Regions from separate parts of the Homo sapiens genome. Here region 1 is linked to region 2. The links are contacts of gene promoters, found by promoter capture Hi-C in human tissues and cell types (Jung and others, 2019). All regions are on one chromosome and are shown on one strand. Each heading gives the region's core, a stretch centred on a gene start or on the middle of the fragment in contact. The rest is flanking DNA. Distances are from core to core; before and after follow the strand shown.

Region 1 (5,119 bases), core at 1,839-4,338, 160 kb before region 2:
CAGTGGGCTGGGAGAGGCAGACCCACCCTCAATCTGGGTGGGCACCATCTAATCGGCTGCCAGCACAGCTAGAATAAAGCAGGCAGGAGAAGGAATGAGGTGACTCGCTGAGACTCCCAGCCTTCATCTTCCTCCCATGCTGGATGCTTCCTGCCCTCAGACATCAGGCTCCAGGTTCTTCAGCTTTTGGTCTCTTGGACCTTCGGCCACAGACTGAAGGCTGCACTGCCAGCTTCCTTACTTTTGAGGTTTTGGTACTCGGACTGGCTTCCCCGCTCCTCAGCTTGCAGACAGCCCATTGTGGGACTTCCCGTTGTGATTGTGTGACTCAGTACTCCTTAGTAAGCTCCCCTTCACACATCCACCCATCCAATTAGTCTTGGCCCTCTAGAGAACCCTGACTAACACAAAGGGCATTTGAGGATGCTGATTCTGGCTCCAGCTGCTGAAGTTGGGACCTGAGGACCCCGGGATGCTGCCTCTACCCTGCTGCTGCCCCTCGAGCATTTGTCCAGGGCCCATGCACCCCTCTTGGAGCCCCCTGGGTGTGTTTGTAATTCCAGAATTCCCAAGACGCTCTCCTTTGTTTCCTGCTGGAGAAAACTCAGCACACCTGTTCCAGCCCTGCTCTGAGAGGGCCTTTGAGGCAGAGCCACAGGCTGCGTGTGTGCAGGGAGGGCACACGTGGGCTGGGAGGGGGAGGGGTATGGGTGGGGGTTGGGTTGGGGGAGGGGCGTGTGTGTCCTTCGGTTGGAGCATCTGGAAGGGTCCTCAGAGTTCCCTGCACACCCAAGCCCGGCCTGCACAGTGTGGACTCTGCCTGGGCCATCTTGGTGTGGCTCTGCCAACAAGCTCTGCACACCCAGAGGGCCGGTGGCCATGTCCTCAGCTGCTGGGTGTCCTGAGTCACTAGGTGCCAAGACCTGGAGAACATATGGAGCCCGCTGAAGTCCCTGGACAGAGAGGCCACTTCTCACTGCCATTGCGGAGCCTCCCTCCAGCCCTGCCATCCCTGCCATCCCTGTGCCCCTGCGGCTGGGGCTGGGCTGCTCCTTCTTTCAGGTGGGAGGCAGCAGCCTCTCAGCACTGGGCTTACCTGGGGCTGTGAAGCGGAACCTCATGGAATGAGAGAGCTGCGCTGGGGCACCGCCTGGCTCAGTGGCACCTGTGCCGGGTTCCGGAGGTGCTTTGGGACAGACAATCATTCTGTATTCGGGATGGGGACAGCTGGAGCCACCAGGAATGGAAGGAAATGCTCTCCTCTGCTGGTGGCCTCCGGTGGGAAGACTTCCTGGCTCCATGCCCTGGAGACAAGCACCTGCCCTGTGGCCTCCCCCAGAGTCGCTCCCAGGCCCCAGCATCATCTGTCCATCGGCAGCATGACCACCACCAGTTGCCTCTGTGCTCGGCACAGGCTCAGTCATGGGACCTCATTGTTCAGAAGTTCGTGGTGATCTTTCTGGAGTAGACACCCCTTGATCTGGCCTCCCGACCTCTGAAACACAAGGTCACCTTCCACATGTCACGGTCTTCCCCAAGGGAAGGGAAATACCCAGCTCAGCCCACTGAGGCTGTTCTGTCCCATCTAAGCTGGGAGGGACAACAGAGGCGTGTGCTTGTGAAGTGAGACACAGGCTCTCGGGAAGCCGGAGACCTACTCGCAGGACTATAGGCTGCTCTCCCCTACCCAGCGCCGCACCGCCACATCACCAAGGTCCGTATGGAAGTTTCTTGCATTTGGCGCATTGTGTCTGCATATCAAAAAAATTATAAGGCATATTAAAAGGCAAAAAAGCACAATTTGGAGAGACAAAACCAGACATGGCAGAGATTTTAGAATGATCAGACAGTGAATTTAAAACAACTGTGGCCGAGCGCAGTGGCTCACGTCTGTAACCCCAGCACTTTGGGGGGCTGAGGCGGGTGGATCATTTGAGGCCAAGAGTTCAAGACCAGCCTGGCCAACATGGTGAAACCCCGTCTCTAATAAAAATACAAAAAACAAAACTAAAACTAAAAATAAATAGCTGGGCATGGCGATGCATGCCTGTAATCCCAGCTACTCGGGAGGAGTCAGGAGAATCACTCCGACCCGGGAGGTGGAGGTTACAGTGAGTCAAAATTGCATCATTGCACTCCACCCTGGGCCACACAGTGAGATGCCATCTCAAAAAATAATAAATAAATAAATAAAACTGTAAACCAAAAATAAAATCTTAAGCCCCCGACCAACTGGACAGACCCTCTCAGGGCCAAGGGGACCTCAGAGAAACGTGAAAAATGGAATTCCTGACCGTGATAGGAAGGGAGGTCGGGAGGTTGGGAGGTCAGGAGGTCAGGAGGTCATGCATGTCTCATTATACCCGCTCCCTTTTGGAGTTTAGGAACATGACCAGCACTAACTTTAAAGTGGAGAGCACTAGGCTGACAAAACAGACTTGTAGCAATCAGATACCAATTTCCAAACTGACTCTGGTATAGCATCACATGTCAGACAGCAGGCCCTGAAAGAAATCAAAGCATTTTACTCCGAAATGTAATGTATTTCTTTCACATATTTTGAAATGGCCCTTCAAAGCTGTCATTTGTGGGGGAAATTTTGCCATCTCCAAAGAATCTCCATTAATGCAGCCAGGCCTTCCCAGATCTAGGAGAGATTAACTGAGAGTCTGTCGCCTTTCAAGATCCAAAAAGAGACACTGACCTTCTATCCTCTCGGAGGGCTGCCACCACTGAGGCTTCGTCAACTTAACACGAACCTTGGCCTCCATGGCCCCCCTTACCTTAACTCAAGCATTTCTTTTACTGACGTCAAGTCTTTAGACAAAGTTTCACTTTTTAAACCAACTGCCATTTAGAAAATCTTTGAATCCACCTATGACCTGTAAGCCTTCCCCCACCAAGAACTTCAAGAATCTTTGCCTCTTTAGGCTGAACCAACGTACACATTTCATGTATTGATTTGTGATTTTACCCACATTTCTTGGCTCCCTACAATGTATAAAACCAATCTGTTACTCGACTGCCTCGGGCACACATTCTGAGGACCCCAGGCCAAGGTCACTTGTATCTTGGCTCAGAATCAACCTCTTAAAATATTTTACAGAGTTTGGTTTTGTTCCCGTGAATATGAGTATGATTAAAATGCTAAGGGCTCTGATGGGTAAAACAGGCAGCACTTAAGAACAGATGGGCAATTTTAGCAGAGAGATAGAAGTCCTAAGAAAGAAGGAAAAAGAAACAGAAGAGATAAAAATGCAGGGGCAGAAATGAGCAGGGCTTATTAGTAGACTGGACGCCGCTGAGGAACGACCGTGTGAGCTCGAGGACACACCCATAGAAACTCTGGAAACTGAAAAGCAAAAAGAACAAAGAATGAAAAGAACAGACCATAGTATCAAAGGGCTGTGGGACAGCCACGAAAGGTGTAACAAAGATTAATGAGAATATCAGCAAGAGAAGAAAGAGAGAAGGAAGAGAAGAAATACTGGAAACAATAGCGTCTGAGAACTTCCACAAATTAATATCAGACACCAAACTACCTATCCATGAAGTGTAGCTCACCAAGCAGGGTCTGTGACCCCAAGCCTACACCTAGACATGCTATTTTCAAACACAGAAAAGCAAGGATTAAAAAAAAGTCCTGAAAAAAGCTAAAGGGAGGAAAAAAACCCAACACTTTACCTGTAGAGGAAAAAAGATGAGAATTAATTCTGTCTTCTTCTCAGAAACCAAGTAAGCAAGAAGAGAGTGCAGTGAAATATTTGAAGTATTTAGAGGAAAAAACACCCCGGCACAGAAATCTGTACCCTGCAGAATTACCCTTCAAAAGTGAGGGAGAAATAAAGACTTTCTCAGACAAACAAAAATTGAGGGAATTTGTTGACAGTAGACCCGTCTTACAAAAAATATTTTAAAAGATCCTTTAGAGAGAAGGAGAATAAAAAGGCCAGAATCTCAGATCTGCATTAGAAAAACAAAGAGGGCCAGGTGTAGTGGCTCACTCCTGTAATCCTAGCACTTTGGGAAGCCTAGGTGGGTGGATCCTCTGAGGTCAGGAGTTCGAGACCAGCCTGGCCAACATGTTGAAACCCCGTCTCTACTAAAAATACAAAATTAGCCGGGCATAGTGGTGCATGCTTGTAGTCCTAGCTACTGGGGAAGCTGAGGCAGGAGAATCGCTTGAACCCAGGAGGCAGAGGTTGCAGTGAGCCAAGATCATGCCACTGCACTCCAGCCTAGGCAACAAGAGCAAAATTCCGTCAAAAAAAAAAAAAAAAAAAAAGCTCTGAGAAAGGAAGAAGTGAAGGTAAAATGGAAGCTTTGATTTTTCATAACCTTAATTGACCTGATTGATAGGTAAATGTGTTCAAAATAATAACAGCAACAATGCATTTGATCATGTATGTTCATGTATGTATTTAATGTTTTATATATATTTGCACACACACATTTATGTCTGCTGATATATCAATGAAATGAATGACAGCAATGACACAGGGACTGAGGGGTAATTAGGCTTATTTGGTTGTTTTAAGGTACTCACGTTACCTGTGAAGTGGTGTAGTGTTTTTCAAAAGTGGGCTTAGATTAGTTGTAAATCTATATTGCAAACTCTAGAAAAACTACTAAAAAAAAGGTTAAAAAAAAGAATGTGATTGACCTGATAAGAAAGGAGAGAAAATGGAATTATATAAAATCTCAATCAAAATCAACTAAAAGGTTAGAAAAGAGTGGAAGACAAAAATAGGAGCAAGGTATAAAGGCAACAAATAAAAAACAATATCAAGTATGGTAGATATTAATCCAACTATATCAATCATTACTTTGAATGTCAATGGTCCAAATGCACCCATTGAAAGACAAAGATTATCAGAGTGAATGAAAAAGCAAGACCCAACTACATGTTATCTATAAGAAACCCACTTTAACTTAAAAGAAACGTATAGATTAAAAGTAAATGGATGGGGGAAATATATGCCATGCTACAACCAATGAAAAGAAAGTAGAAGATGTATTAATGCAGACAGAATAAGCTAGGAAAGCTACCAGAAATAAACAGGGCATTACATAATGATAAAGGTATCAGTTCCCCAAGTATATCTAACAATCCTTAACG
Region 2 (5,167 bases), core at 2,086-4,585:
CCCTGCACTGAGTCAGGTGTCACACTGCTGATTCCTTCTCTGGGTCCTCGCTGGCACGGCTTTCATTCAGGGCCTCATCATCGCGCAGCTGGCGAGTGTTCAGAAAGGAGTTGGTCTGATTGGCAATTGCTTTGGAAAGAAGTTCTGGCAGCGTGGGCGGTGGGTGGTGCAGGGAACCTCCGAGGTGATATGCAGGGCCTAGACCTCCCTCCTGTTTCCCTGCTGTTTACTTTAACTCTGCAGGGCTGGAAGGAAATGTTTTCATCTCTCCCATTTTGGGATTCTATTAGGTTTTACTTAGAAAAACAAAATAAAATAACTTCCAAAAAGAAAAAAATATTCTATGGGCTTCAAAATCTTATTCCACTGATGTCTCTGAAACCTTCCCCATGATTTTTTCCTGAAAGGTAATAAACAATCGGGAACTCATTAGCACATGTAGGTAATTCACACGTTTTCCCTGCTGCGGATCTCCTCTTCCTAGGTGATATCCTGTCTCAGCTTAGCAGGAAATTTCTGCTGGTTTTGCCCAAATAACATGGAAAGACTTAAGGTTGTTTTTATTGGATAGGAGAGCTGGAGACTAGACTGTACCTAAGATGCTTTATAAAGCAAATTTCTCACTGATTTTTACAGGGAAACAAAGGGCGAGTTTATGGGGTGCCTGCCACCTGTCTGCCCAGGGCTGACCTCTGGGGGCACTCACAGGGAGGGAGATGTGCCTGCCAGCACACATCTCTCTGGCAGAGAGTCCCAGCTCAAAGCTAGACATTCACCTGGCTTCTGGTCCCCAGGAAGAAGGTGGCATCCTGCTTGTTTGTGTGACAGCTGTCTTCTTTGCATCTTCTTTGCCTTCGCTCTTTCAACCATCCTCAAGATGTACAAATGACATTTGCAGAACCGGTTCATGGAGGCGGTCCTTCTAAACAATCATTGAAATGAGTGTATCTATGAGGGGGCTTCTCCTATCCATGAGGGTGTAGAAGGTTCCCGGGTTAAACGGGATGAGAGGCAAACCTTGAAAAGAATCTGACAGAAATGAGAGCCAGGAGGAGGGGGAGAAGCCCTGTGCTGGGTCCTTGGCCCTAGCAACGATTAGTGGAAATGGCCGTGCCTGCGTCGTTGAGGGCTGTTTTCCCATAATTTAGCACACAGAATGGTACAGAAAAGGGCTCCCAAGCATTGTCATACAAAAGGAGAGTCAAGCTTGTGGCAGGAAATAGCAAGAGTTTAGGCCGCTTTGTGGTTGAGTCAAGAGCTGCTTTCGACTTTCCAGCTCTTCTTCAGAGCCAAGTAGTGGCTCAAGGGGTCCTGAGCTCAGAGCATCAGGAAGCCCGGAGGGGTGCTGGCAAAAACGGACTTCAGCAGAACCCTTTCTAGGACAGTGGGGATGGGGCTGGGATTCCCCAAAGGAGTGCTACAGCTCCCACAGACTGTGGCCAACCCTACCTTCCCAGGAACCTGGGGGCCACACACGCAAAACCCTGCTTTTGCAGAGAACAGCATGCAAGCCAGGCACGAGCACCCCTGGCCTTCTGTCTCTGCCTCCAAGCAGAAGGAAGGAGAATCTCCTGTGCAAAAGGGACTATGCGGTGGGGGAGGTGGGGGGTGGCAGGGGCATGTGAGCCTGCCTGGAGACGCCTCCCCAATATCCTGATCTGGCTCTGACCATTAAACTAACACATTTATAACACATGTGCACATACTAATATATGCACATAAATTAAGGGTGTAAGTGAATAGTAACAGCCTTCTAATGTGCAGAGCTTTCTGATTTTAGGTGAATAAAAAAAATGCCAGTACTTTTGCATCAAAGAGAGAGATAAACTTGCTAATTGAAAACTGGTTTTCGTGGAGGAAAATATGGAGGCGCCAGCTATGTAAATCAGCATATGCCCAGATCTAAAAGAAATCAGGCCAGGCCAAGAGGAAATTAAGCAAATCAGGATAATGAGGAAACAACCCTAGACGCAAATTAAAAGCACTCGGGTGCTTTAGGCCATCTCAGGAGGTTGGCAGTGGACAGGTGGGAGGTGATGCGAACACGGGTTTGGAGTACCAGGCGTGTCAGTGCCGCTGGGTGGGTGGGTGCCTGCTCTCCCACCCAGGTCAGGGAGGGTTTTTCATGCAAGTTCTTAAATGCATGGATCATAATGCTGCCTTTTGCATCCAGAAAGACCCTTCAAATGCCTCTAACAACACTGGTCTCGCGCTGGCATTAGCTGTGCTTGGGTTTCCTGGGTTTAGCGACCTAAGGGGTTTACAGCGCACGGAAGTCTCTGCCCAGCTGTCAGCGCGCGTCGCCAGGGGCTGCACTGAAGCTGTGGACCCGGGATGGGGAGGAGGCTGGCGGCCTCCGAAGCAGGGTCTACAGCGGGGGAGGGCTAGCGCCGTCTGGCGGTGGCTGCGCGTGGCCAGTGCGGACCCAGGCTCGGCTCGGCCGGCGCTGCCTGCGTGTGGTCCGGGCGGAGCGAGGGTCCTTGGAGCCCGGTTCGTCCTGGGTCCCAGGAAGCTCGGCGTGCAGCGTCAGAGGCCGCGTGTGCTGGGGGAGGGAGGAGTACAGACTGTGCCTGGGGGCATCCAGGACGAATTCACAGAGGGGTGGTCCTGCCCCACCCAGGGGGTGTCGTGGGCAAAGGCCCTGGGGCCACCTGCCTGGTGCCTTGGAGGGCGTAGGGCAGGAGCCGCCGAGGCCCGCGGGCCACTGTGGGGCGCGGAACTTCAGACCAGGCACCCGCGGCTCAACTTCCGGGCCAGGGGACCCGCGGGGGCCTTACGAACCTGTTTGGCCCATTTGTGCAACAGAAATCCGCCCGCGCCTAGCAGCGTCCGGGGCCGCCTGCGCCGGATCCGCAGCCCAGTACCCTCCGCGCCCTGGACTCCGAGGAGGCCAGGTAGAGAGCGGCTCGCGCGGTCCCCGTCTGCGCCCTCAGCCCCGCGCTGGGCAGCGGGACATGCCTGGCTCCGGCGCCGCCACCTCGGCTTCCGCTTGCCCTTGAGTGCGGAGCCCGGAGCCTCCCTCGCGGTGCGCTGGGTCCCAGAGGGCCAGAGGCCACCAGGGGGCCGGCATCGGCGGGAGCCCAGCCGGGCGCGCCCTCGGCCCTCTCCCACCCACGTCCTCCGCGGCCGCCCGGGTCCAGGGGCGCAGCGGGGAGGAGACCCCGGCCAGGGCCGGGGAGCGCGAGGGCGGGGCGGGGTCCGGCGGGGAGGGGCGCGGGCGGGCGGGGACCGGGGCGGGGGCCGGGTCCGGGGGCGGCGGCGGCGCGGGCGGGAGGAGGAGGAGCTTCCCGCGCGGGGCAGGGGCGGAGCGAGCGGCCGCGCCGCGGAGCCAAGTGAGTTCGCTCCGGAGCCGCGCCGCCGCCGGCCCAGCATCTCGGGCGCCCGCCGCCCCCGCCGCCGCCGTCAGCGCGGGGATGTAGGATGCAGGCGGGCGCCAGGTTCCAGCGGCGGCGGCGGCAGCTGCAGCAGCAGCAGCCCCGGCGGCGGCAGCCTCTCCTCTGGCCGATGGACGCAGAGCCGCCGCCGCCGCCGCCCTGGGTCTGGATGGTGCCGGGCTCGGCCGGGCTGCTCCGGCTCAGCGCGGGGGTCGTGGTTCCCCCGGTGCTGCTCGCCTCGGCCCCGCCGCCCGCGGCCCCGCTGCTCCCCGGTCTCCCCGGCTGGCCGGCCCCGAGCGAGCCGGTGCTCCCGCTGCTGCCGCTGCCCTCTGCGCCAGACTCCGCCGCCGCCGCCGCCGCGCACCCCTTCCCCGCGCTCCACGGGCAGGTAACGTGTCCCCGTCCCGCCTCGGCCCGGGTCGCCGTCTCCCCTGCTCCTGGGCGCGCCCTGCCCGGCCCGGCTCTGGCCTCCGGCTCGCGCGCCCTCCTCCCCGGCGGTCCTCGCCGCCCCAAACCCTCAGGACGGAGCCCGGCAGCCGTGCCTCGGCGAGAAAGTTCGTGCTTGGACGCCCGGTCGTCCACCTCCGCAGCTTTGGCAGGTGCCTCCGGGTGTCTGGACGGAGCCGTGGAGGGACCCGCCGCCCAGGCCCGCGTGGGGACCGCAGGGAACTCGCGCCACGCCGGGGGTCACTGTCCATCGCGAGGTGCTGAAGTGGCTCCGTGACCGCCGCGGGCCGTGGCTGACATCGCGGAGAAGTTAGGACTTTCACAGTCTCTGCCAGACTTGAAAGCAAGCTGGAAATCGATAGCTGTTTCAGCTGTTTCAGATTCTAATCTGGTTTGGGTTTTTCCCCCTTTCATTTGAAAATAGACTCAGGGCAATGCTTAAGAGAATTCCAACCGACGGAAGTGGCCGGGAAATCCTGCCTTCGGTACTGAGGGATGTTACCGGAGATTCCCCTGCCCCAGGCCTGCCGGAGTCCACCACATTCGCTAATGCCACACTGCACTTTAGAACTAGAGTTTGGCTTTTAAGACATGGGATTAAAAAGAAAAAGTGACTGAACCTTTGATAAATGGTGCAGCAGAGCTAGGCGGGCTGGTTTGGGCAAGATTCATTGTCAGCTAACTATGCAGATGCATTTAAATCAGGGAATAGCGTGCATTTTATTCCAAGGATTGACCTCATTAGCATATTCAAACGGGTGTTATGTTAGAATACACCATTTGATTAATTTAATTCCAATATTATCTTGTGAGCTTTTCTAAAAGATGTTGTTAAACTCCTGCTAAATTGGTCTTTAGACTTAATGATACATCACATATGCAGCACTGGATATTGTATTTTTATGTGTGATGCAGTTTATTTTGGATTTTATTCAAGAAACGTTGGTAGTTTTTGCCGTATTTTGGAGGGGTGTTATATCAGAGTGCTGCCACTAGAGGTATATAATGTCAAGGAACTACATTTTTTAAATTCTGCTTTAAAAAACTGCATTTTTTCACTTATATAAATTTAAAAGAAAATTTAAAAAACCTTAGCATTAATCTTTTAAATATTTTTGTGCTACCCAGCTTCTGTAAAGTAAGAATATGTACAACCAGAAGAACATTTTCATGTAACAGGAACATCACAAATGCTTTTACGATTTTAAAACAATAGGTACTGAAACGTTCCATGTCATTGAGCAATGCATTTTATTAGTGCCTTATGAGGTCTCAGTTATTTTAATTAGAGAGACGGTGCCCTGAATTACCAGCCCCTTTCCATGACTGATGTTTTATTCTGTGTA

The links. Contacts are between HindIII fragments. The study calls those that stand out against the background at their distance.
Region 1: a fragment that was not itself captured here is called in contact with the fragment with the promoter of TCERG1L in region 2 in 3 of the 25 tissues and cell types used here (H1 embryonic stem cells, mesendoderm cells and thymus).

The regions. Positions count from the first base shown.
Region 1 is chr10:131,469,832-131,474,950 of GRCh38, reverse strand. No RefSeq gene overlaps it. Among named protein-coding and RNA genes, the nearest start is that of TCERG1L, 160 kb to the right of the region's middle. The HindIII fragment of the contact is 6,268 bases long and covers 1-5,119 here.
Region 2 is chr10:131,309,889-131,315,055 of GRCh38, reverse strand. TCERG1L (transcription elongation regulator 1 like) reads left to right here and starts at 3,335. Exons shown (of 12, transcript NM_174937.4): 1 at 3,335-3,762. The coding sequence starts at 3,421. LOC101927461 (a long non-coding RNA gene) reads right to left here and starts at 3,200. Exons shown (of 3, transcript XR_242763.6): 1 at 2,782-3,200; 2 at 777-922; 3 at 1-400. The HindIII fragment of the contact is 8,672 bases long and covers 1-5,167 here.